Regions from separate parts of the Homo sapiens genome. Here regions 1 and 2 are each linked to region 3. Evidence: promoter capture Hi-C in 16 types of primary human blood cells and fetal thymus (Javierre and others, 2016). All regions are on one chromosome and are shown on one strand. Each heading gives the region's core, a stretch centred on a gene start or on the middle of the fragment in contact. The rest is flanking DNA. Distances are from core to core; before and after follow the strand shown. Region 1 overlaps GNAQ (G protein subunit alpha q). Region 2 overlaps GNAQ (G protein subunit alpha q). Region 3 holds the start of CEP78 (centrosomal protein 78).

Evidence for each region. Contacts are between HindIII fragments. The CHiCAGO score rates a contact against its expected background, and 5 or more counts as called.
Region 1: a fragment that was not itself captured here is called in contact with the fragment with the promoter of CEP78 in region 3 in 1 of 17 cell types (non-activated CD4 T cells); the score reaches 5.0 in non-activated CD4 T cells.
Region 2: a contact is called between a fragment that was not itself captured here and the fragment with the promoter of CEP78 in region 3, in 1 of 17 cell types (naive CD4 T cells). The highest score is 5.2, in naive CD4 T cells.

Annotation. Positions count from the first base shown.
Region 1 is chr9:77,982,676-77,985,787 of GRCh38, reverse strand. The region is part of intron 1 of GNAQ (G protein subunit alpha q); the gene reads left to right. Among named protein-coding and RNA genes, the nearest start is that of GNAQ, 48 kb to the left of the region's middle. The HindIII fragment of the contact is 2,924 bases long and covers 268-3,112 here.
Region 2 is chr9:78,003,387-78,006,581 of GRCh38, reverse strand. All of the region lies in intron 1 of GNAQ (G protein subunit alpha q), which reads left to right. Among named protein-coding and RNA genes, the nearest start is that of GNAQ, 27 kb to the left of the region's middle. The HindIII fragment of the contact is 1,386 bases long and covers 646-2,031 here.
Region 3 is chr9:78,234,507-78,238,093 of GRCh38, reverse strand. It overlaps CEP78 (centrosomal protein 78), which reads right to left and starts at 2,019. Exons shown (of 17, transcript NM_001330691.3): 1 at 1,491-2,019. The coding sequence starts at 1,743. RefSeq lists a silencer at 1,626-1,995 and an enhancer at 1,621-2,290. The HindIII fragment of the contact is 10,697 bases long and covers 1-3,587 here.

The DNA of each region.
Region 1 (3,112 bases), core at 480-2,979, 250 kb after region 3:
AGTGAAACCCCATCTCTACTAAAAATCCAAAAAATTAGCCGGGTGTGGTGGTGCATGCCTGTAATCCCAGCTACTCAGGAGGCTGAGGCAGGAGAATCGCTTGAACCCGGGAGGCAGAGAGATTGCAGTAAGCCGAGATCATGCCACTGCACTCCAGCCTGAGCCACAGAGCGAGACTCTGTCTCAAAAAAAATAAAAATAGAAAAATTAAAAATTATACTAATCTAAAAACACATAATCAGTTACTGTGTTTTAAGCTGTGAAGCTTAACACCTTGTACTTTTATAGGGTATGTAATATTTGAATGACATACAACTATCCTCTACTTGGGGAGTAGGAATTTCTGCAACAGTGACTGCTCACAATTAATGTCTTCAGTCTCCTCCATTATATGATGTGATGTGGATCTCTGTAAAAGGAAAACCAAAACAAAACAAAACTCTACAAACTCTTTTGTTTGTTGGTTGGTTTTTCTGAGATGGAGTCTCTCTCTGTCACCCAGATTGGAGTGCAGTGGCGAGATCTCAGCTCACTGCAAGCTCCGCCTCCTGGGTTCATGCCATTCTTCTGCCTCAGCCTCCCAGCCTATAGCTGGGACTACAGGCACCTACCACCATGCCTGGCTAATTTTTTGTATTTTTAGTAGAGACGGAGTTTCACCATGTTAGCCAGGATGGTCTCGATCTCCTCACCTTGTGATCTGCCTGCCTTGGCCTCCCAAAGTGCTGGGATTACAGGTGTGAGTCACCGCGCCTGGCCCACAAACTCTTTTGAAAACCATGTAGGGGGAACTAGTGTATGTCCATGCCATAAAATTGCCATTTCCTTGCCATAGTATCAGGATCCTCAAATGGTAGTCCATTTTGATTTTGTAATTCTCTGCTTTCTCCTCTCACCTCTTAAATACCTGAATAGATGTTGGAGGATTGCTCCATTCTTCACTCGGGAGCCTGGTCCCTTTGTCAGTTATAATAAGTGAATCAGGGAGTTTCTCTCTCTGGCTCTGCTCTGTGCATTGTAAAGCAGAGTTTCTCAAAATGTGGAATGAACCCCTGCGTTAGAGCACCTGCACTGAATCCCTGGGTATACTTCTCTTAAAACTGCAGGTTTTTGGTTATATAATGTTATACCAAGGGAATTTTTTAAAAGAGAATGTTTTAAAAAGGTATTTCAAGACAATAAGGAGCTACTTGTTTGTAAGAGTTCTACAGAAACCAAAAATTATGCGAATTCATACTTTTGGGAATCTTATCTTTTCCAAGGACTTTGTTAACTATTTCATCAACTCTAAGGCAGTTAAGAATAAACACAGTTAAACAGGTACTTCAGGCTGGATGTGGTGGCTCACGCCTGTAATCCCAGCACTTTGGGAGGCCGAATTGCTTGAGTCCAGGAGTTCGAGACCAGCCTGGGCAACATGGCAAGACCCCATCTCTACAAAGAATACGAAAAATTAGCCACGTGGTGGTGCATGCCAGTAGTCTCAGCTACTCAGGAGGCTAAGGTGGGAGGATCACTTGAGCCCAGGAGGTCGAGGCTGCAGTGAGCCGAGATCATGCCACTGCACTCCAGCCTGGGTGACAGTGAGGCCCTGTCTCAAAAAAAAAAAAAGAAAAGCAAAAAAATCCCAGAAATCTACGTACTTCAACTAAAATTCAAAAACTTTCTGCTTGTGCCCTACCTGCCTAGATGACCAACTTCATCTAGGTGATTTTTTTTTTTTTTTTTTTTTTTTTTTGCTCTCCAAAATTCTACTTGCATATGCTGCAAAAACCCAGGATGACTTTTGAGGAGAGAGAGAGAGTCTTTGAATAAAAGCACAACGTGTTAGATCTTTTATTTCTGTATCCCTCAGTTCTGAGCAAAATGCCCACACAGTAGGATCTCGGTAAATCTTCCTGTCTCTTGGAGTGGACTTCCTTTAGGATACAGCAAGTTCTGACCGTGACTTCCTAGGAAAGAGTCCTCCCCACTAAAAGAGTGGAATAGAGTCAGTGGTCATTTCAGTCACTAAATTCTCCTGCTGGTGATGCCAAAGGCAAGACTAGATCTGCTAGTGATGCTGATTTTAAGTGCATAGATACTTTTCTGTGTTTCCATAAAATGCCAGAAAATGAGCTGCTCAGCCAAACCCTGTGCCACAGTAAGGGGAACCTTGAAAGAAAGAGGCAAAAGGCAACATACACCAACTATGAGGAATAAGGAATACACCAACCTTGAAAGAAAGAAGTAAAAGACACATACACCAACTATGAGGAATAAGGCAAATGGCTCTTCGAAGAGGCTCAAGGCCATACCAGTCCTCTCAGTTCCAGAGGGGAGGGGCCCAGAGGAGTCATCTCCCAGCAGGGTGAGAACCAAAAGGTTGGTGAGGTACTGAGGCTACCCATGGAGGAATTTGGGAGGGAATAAACACCTACATCCACACAAGTCCTTTAGAAGATTTTTAGCAGCAAGAGTTGGCTACTAATAGGTCAGCCCTCTTACCTAAAATGACGCAGTTGCTTTCTATGAAAGCATGATTTTGATGCTCAGCACTCCACAGATACATACTATGTAAATGTTATCACCATGCACGAGTTCATACTGTTGCATAGAACTAGCTGGCAAGTGAGAAACAAAGTGCCAGTTTCTATGTAGGCAGTGTTTCCACAGTTACTTCAGCCCTTTCTACCCCAGTACAGCAGAATTCTGGGTAGTGTAAATAATTGATGAATTCAAGCATTGGTACATTATATAGGGGCCAGTTAGAGACCCATGTAGGTATTTTCTCTGTTATGGTTCTTCTAAAAAAGTTTTTATCTTGTTAATACTGGTTTTGACTTTTTTATTTTTTTATTATTATACTTTAAGTTCTAGTGTACATGTGCACAACGTGCATTTTTGTTACATATGTATACATGTGCCATGTTGGTGTGTGCCGCACCCATTAACTCGTCATTTACATTAGGTATATCTCCCATTACTATCCCTCCCCCCTCTCCCCACTCCACGACAGGCCCTGGTGTGTGATGTTCCCCTTCCTGTGGTTTTGACTTTTTTTTTTTTTTTTTTAAACATAGAATCAACAGTTCGATACAGGTAGAGGATTCATTAATGAGAATGCATCTTT
Region 2 (3,195 bases), core at 89-2,588, 230 kb after region 3:
CTATCCTAGTTTGAATGATGCTTGGAAAGGTTTTAGTCCTGGGATTGCAGATAATTTATTTTTTTTGGTAGTACCAATTAGGGATATGCTGAGAACAGTGGGGAAAGCAACAGTAGGTTTACTTCTTATTGCCTGATAGAGTATTTTTCTCTAAGATTTTTTGGTATGTGTGTACAAGACAGTGTTTTTGGTTGATCCTATGTCTCAGTTGAAGACAGTCCTACTGAATTGAGATCTTATGGGGCAGGGGGCAGTATACTTCTTTTTTATTGACATAATTGCAGCCAGATAGAAATAGGTAATTATATTTCTTATCACACACATAATGGATTTGTTTTATGTTGTGTTATTCTCTGAAATTAACTGACAGATTAGAACAAATTGCATGTATATTTCACATACCCAACCTGCACTAAGTCCCTCAAATTCCTATTTATGACAGTTTACCTCTGGGAATTAGCTAGGGCATTTAAATCAATAGCATTATTAGAACTCACGTTCCAGGAATCCATTTGTGACCCCGTACAGGAAAGAGTTAACATAGTAAGCCTGCGTGCAATAACTTAAGACATTTCATGTTTATTGTCACAACTGGTTGTTGGCAGCATTAAATGTGACCCCACTTGGAGAGGACCCATGGAAGCTTGTGTCTAGTTTCTTCCAGACTTCATCCCATACCCTTTTCCGTTGGCCGATTTTGCATTTTGCTTTCTTGTAATACATTGTAGCCATGATACAACTATATGCTGAGACGGGCGAGTCTTCCAGGTGAATCATTGAGCCTGGGGAGTAGTCGTGGGGATGCCTAACACATACCCATCATCAACTGCTGAAGGCCTCTACTTGGTTAAGGTGGAGTGCTCTGGGCTAGAGTATTGGCACTGCAACCTTGACCCATGCACTACTGCACCAAGTTTGTTGGGAGGATCACATGGGATGGTGTTGGTAAAAGTTCCTTGAAAACAGATCACTATCCAGATGCACACTGATGTGATTATTATTTTGCTTCTTCCGTGATATGTTTTGGTAACTACTGTGAGTAAGACATTATTATGCACACATAGAACGCTCAGTTATTTACCCTTTGGTTAGTATTGGGCCTCCTTCTTCACATGAGGCAAGGCAAACTCCCGCTTCCCCAGACAATGGGGAGCACTCTAGACACTAATTCCCCACCCTTCCTACATTTTTCACATTGCTCTCTGGTTACTTTTCTTAACCCATGTTAATTACAGTTGGGTGGGTACAGTGGCTCATGCCTATAATCCCAGCACTTTGGGAGGCCAAGGCGGGCAGATTGCTTGAGCCCAGGAGTTCAAGACCAGCCTGGGCAACATGAAGAACACCATCTCTACAAATAATACAAAAATTAGCTGGGTGTGGTGGTGCCCACCTGTGGTCCCAGCTACATGGGGTGTGGGAGGATCGCTTGAGCCCGTGAGGTGAGGGCTGCAGTGAGTCATGATTGCCCCACTGCACTCCAGCCTGGGTGATAGAGCAAGAGCCTGTCTCAGAAAAAGAGAAAAATTGTAGTTTTGTCATCTCTCCAAACCATTAATTACATTGCATTCATTGTGAAATAAAGGCCAGATATGTTTATCTGTCAGTCAAGTTTATCTGATCCCACCCCCTCTTCTAGCCTTATTCCTTACTGCTTGCCTTGAGGTATTTGACAGTTTAGCCAAATGAGGACACTAACCCTTTTCCTTCCCCTCCTCAGATATTTGTTGCTTTCCTCTCTTCTCTCCCACCCCTAGGATGCTTTTTCCTCCATCGCTCTCTGTGCAAATCCTACCGTGTTTCAAAACCCATGTTAAATGGTGCCTCTTTCTCATTGCCTTTTCTGATCCCTCTAGTGGTCAAAGTTTCTGTTGACTCCTATGACGTTTTATGTTTGTTTATGTCTGAGTTTTTTTGATATGTGCAGGAGGTATTGGTATGCAAGTGGAGAAGTGAGATAGCTAAGGGAAGGCAGCCAATAAAGGTGCATTATTAAACCACTAATGGCAATGGGCAGTTGGAGGTCAAGCTTGGGGAGAAGCTCTGGGAGATGATGTCACGCAGGACTTCTCAAACTTTCATGTTCATGAGAATCTCCTGGGGACCTTGTTAAAATGCAGGTTCAGACTCAGGTCTGGGGTGAGACCTGAGAGTCTGAATTTCTCATGAGCACCTGGTGATAATGATGCTGTTGGCATGGGTCCAGAGACCCCACTTCGGAGAATGGTGATGCTGTAAATTTGTCCCACCTGAAGAGTAAGGTAGCTGGAGCATTTAACTTAATTAATTTTTTTTTTTTTTTTTTGAGACAGAGTCTTACTCTGTCGTCCAGGCTGCAGTTCAGTGGCTCAGTCATAGCCAACTGGAGTATTTATATACCAACTTTGGATGGTCATTAGTTGGGGGCTGTCAATTCCTGCCACCTTTGGCTTCTCGGGTGGCCATCCCTACCTTGGAGAAAAGTCCTCAGGCAGCGAGGTGCAGATACCTGTAGTTGGAGGTCAGCTTTGGGTGGCTAGGGCAAATTCAGCCCCATCTTGTAATTGTGATGATTTATACACATTTGTTCCTCCATAGCAACCTGTCAGATCCCTGAAGGCAGGATATGTAATTTGTCTTGTGTTCTAATAGCATTTAGTGCATATTATGCTTTTTTGTTTGCTCAATGAGTGAGTTGATTGTTGGTACTTTCTACTTTGGCAAAGTGTTACAAGTGCAGTTTATGGTGCAGTTCGGACTCCAGCTTTTTTTTTTCTTTTTTTTTTTTTTAGACAGTCTTGCTCTAAAGCCCAGAATGGAGTGCAATGACGCTATCTAGGCTGACTGCAACCTCTGCCTCCCCGGTTCAAGTGATTCTCGTGCCTCAGCCTCCCCAGTAGCTGGGATTACAGGCGTGCATTACCACACCCAGTTTATTTTTTGTATTTTTAGTAAACAAGGGGTTTCGCCATGTTGCCCAGGCTGGTCTTGAACTCCAGGTCTCAAATGATCTGCCCGCCTCGGCCTCCCAAAATGCTGGGATTACAGGTGTGAGCCACTGTGTCCGGCCGCAGCTTGTCATTTTTAGTCTCAGTGTCTAAGATAAAGATTCTGTAACACAAAAGCCTTCTTCCTGGTTCGTCATCTCTGAAGGTATCAGTGGCCTTGTCCTCACTGGTCAGTGCTAACAGGTACAAGAGAGAAGAATACTATGGA
Region 3 (3,587 bases), core at 770-3,269:
GAGTGCAACGGTGCAATCTCAGCTCACTGCGACCTCCACCTTCTGGGTTCAAGCAACTCTCGTGCCTCAGCCTCCCAAGTAGCTGGGATTACAGGTGCCCGCCACCACGCCCGGCTAATTTTTTTTTTTTTTTTTTTTGTATTTTTAGTACAGATGGGGTTTCACCATGTTGGTGAGCCTGGTCTCGAACTCCTGACCTCAGGTGATCCACACCCCCCCGCCTTGGCCTCCCAAAGTGCTGGGATTACAGGCATAAGCCACGGTGCCCGGCCCCAGCCCTTCTTTTCTATACCTTAGTTTGGGCCATTAGATTACAATTCACCATCCTTCCAATTTTAATTTGTCTTCCATATGGAGGCTAGACTGAGCTCCTACGGAAATTCCATCTCATCATCCTACAGCGGTTTCCCAAAACCTTCAGGATAAACATCCAACTCTATGACAGGACAAACGAGGACCCTCCCTGTTTGGCCCCCACAAGGTTTCCAGCCTCAACTCTCTCTGCTCTTTCTCAAACCTAAATTCCAGTCCTGTAACTCAGCTTGCATACTCTCTCCTATTTCCAAAACTTTTGCACAAACTGTTCCTTCCTGTTACCTAGCTAGCGTCTATAGGAAGCTGCCTCCATTATGTAGAAAATGCTAAGTGCTCAAAGGAATAACAGCATTTTGTCATATATCATAGTTGACCTAACATATTTTCCGAATAATCAGAGAGTCTGGATCCCTAATTATACCACTATACATTTACAAATGGCTTGTATTTGTAAAGCACTTTACAAACTTCTTATATACACCTTAAAAAATGAAGACAGGCCGGGCGCGGTGGCTCATGCCTGTAATCCCAGCACTTTGGAAGGCCGAAGCGGGCGGATCACCTGAGGTCAGGAGTTCGAGACCAGCCTGGCTAACATGGTGAAACCCCATCTCTACTAAAAATACAAAAATTAGCCGGGCATGGTGGCGCGCGCCTGTAATCCCAGCTACTCGGGAGGTTGAGGCAGGAGAATCACTTGAACCCGGGAGGCGGAGGTTGCAGTGAGCCGAGATCTTGCCACTGCATTCCAGCCTGGGCGACAGAGTGAAACAGTGTCTCAAAAAAAAAAAAAAAAAAAAAAAAAAAAAGACAAAGGCTGACATGTATTAATTTCCTACCTGCTTAGTTCTCTATCAGGCAAATCAAAGTCATTCAATAAAATAGGTAACATCTGTCAAATGTTTAATGATGTCCCAAACTGTGCTAAGAGCTCTGCAGGCATCAGCAGCGCAGGGAATCCTTGCGAAGGCGCACATAACCTGGGTCTCGTTATTAAGCCCATGTTACGGATGAGCACACTGAAGCCCTAGAGACCTTAAGCCACTCACCTAGCTCGTGAGTGTCCAGGCCGCACACCCCTTCTATTGCACACATACCCCGACAATGGACACCACTCACCTAAAAACCCACTTCGCCGCACCGACTGAGGGGCCCTGGAGGCGGGAACTACAAACCTGTGTCCCCCAGCCAGGGCTGGAAGAAGCTCTTGATGGAGACCAAGGGCAGGTCTTTATTGATCTTGAGGGTGCTCAGCAGAGGCGCCCAGTCCACCCCGCGGAGGCGGTCGGCGTTGAAATCCAGCACGCCCTCCCGGAGACAGGCGCGCACGGCGGGCAGCGGCACCGAGTTCTGCAGCGCGCACAGGTACTCGTAGTGGGAGAAGAAGTCCGCCGCGCTGTCGCGGCGCAGCTTCACGGAGTCGATCATGGCCCGAGGGCGGCCTCGGGGGATGCCCGCCGCGGAGACGCCGCCCGCGCCCACCCAAGAACGCTGAGTCGCAACCCGGCCGCTCCGGCACCCACGGCCAGGCGATAGCGGCAGCCCCGCACCGGGCTCAGGAGCGGTGATTCGGTCGGAAGACGCAAGGCCAGAGCCCCAAGCTAGGCCGGCCCCTCAACGCCCCACTCCCGCGCTGCCTCCCGCCCTGCGGCCCAAGCAGTTGGCGCCCGCCTCATAGTCCTCTGAGGCGCCGGGATTCAAGCCGGTGGGCGGTGCCGTGGAACGGTGCGCCAAGACGTCAACGTGCTCGCTGTGCGTCGGCACGCAGGTCCCGCCTCCTGAGGACGGGTGAGTTCGCTGCTACCTGAGATAGTGGTCGGGAGAGTTTGAGGGTTTGCGAAAGAGTTTACTGATCGATCCGAATAAAAGTGAAATGTGTGGTCGGGCGCGGTGGCCCACGCCTGTAATCCCAGCACTGTGTGAGGCGGGGGCGAGCGGATCACCTGGGGTCAGGAGTTCGAGACCAGCCTGGCCAACATGGCGAAACCCCGTCTCAATTAAAAATACAAACATTAGCCGGGCATGGTGGCGGGCGCCTGTAATCCCAGCTACTCGCCTGTAATCCCAGCTGAGGAAGGAAAATCGCTAGAACCCGGGAGGCGGAGGCTGCAGTGAGCCGAGATCTTGCCATTGCACTCCAGCCTGGGCGACAAGAGCGAAACTCCGTCTCAAAAAAAGAAAGAAAATAAAAAGTGAAATGTGGATGTAACAACGCACTTTTAAAAAAAGTCTAAACATCTGAGGAATGTGTCTGTGCTTGCAGTGTCCAGCCAGCACAGAGACTGCACTCAAGGGATGTGGGAACGGCTGATTGAACGTGAACTGCGGTCATTAAATCTTTTATGTCTGTGTTAATATCTACAAATAAGCCTTAATTTCTGTAGTTTCTGCATATCTCACACGGTTCCTGGCAAATTGAAGAGTGTTTCATGAATTCAGGACTTTATTGTGTTTGCTGTGAATCAGTTTGTTTTGTACTGACGATGATGTTGGCTAACTCCCTTGTAACTAGTACTTATTTGAAATAATGTCCTCGGGATTATTTTAAGCAATGTTTAAGTATGAAATCATTTCATTCTCCTAACATCTCAAGGAATATACTATTATATTCTACTTTACAAAAGGGGAAACTGAGGAACGGGGAAGTTAAGTGGAAGCTAAGTGGAAGAATCCAGATAATTGACCTCTCCTTCTATTGGTATGCAATTGCTAGAGCAATGATAGTCCTCCGGTAGAGCCTTAGACATTGTGTTTATTGCATTCCTGTTCCACCCACTGCATTCCGGATACTCCAACTTACTTCCAACACACATATGCAGGCGTCTCTAAAATTCCGGAGATATGGTCACCAATTATTTTTATGTGCGACATGCTCAAATCTTAATATAGTAAACGCTTGTATATTCATAAACCAGCTTAATAAATGAAACATTACCATTCCTGTTGAAGAGCTTTGTGTAACCACCTTCCCAATCACGACTACTCTCTGACTCTGAGATAACTGCTCTTCTGAACTTGGTATTCATCGTTGCAATGTATGTCTTTATATTTCTGCTACATATGTAAGTAAGCAGTATATAACATTCTATATTTTCTTTTCCTACTTTACTTATCGTTACCTTTACTAGGTCCATCCGTGTTGACATATAGAGATATTCATTTATTTTCCCTGTTGTTATATGGGAGTTCCATGTAGAAACATACAGTAATGTGTCTGTTTTTCTGTTGATGGTAATTTAAATTGTTTCCAACTTTACGATTTCTTTGTTGCT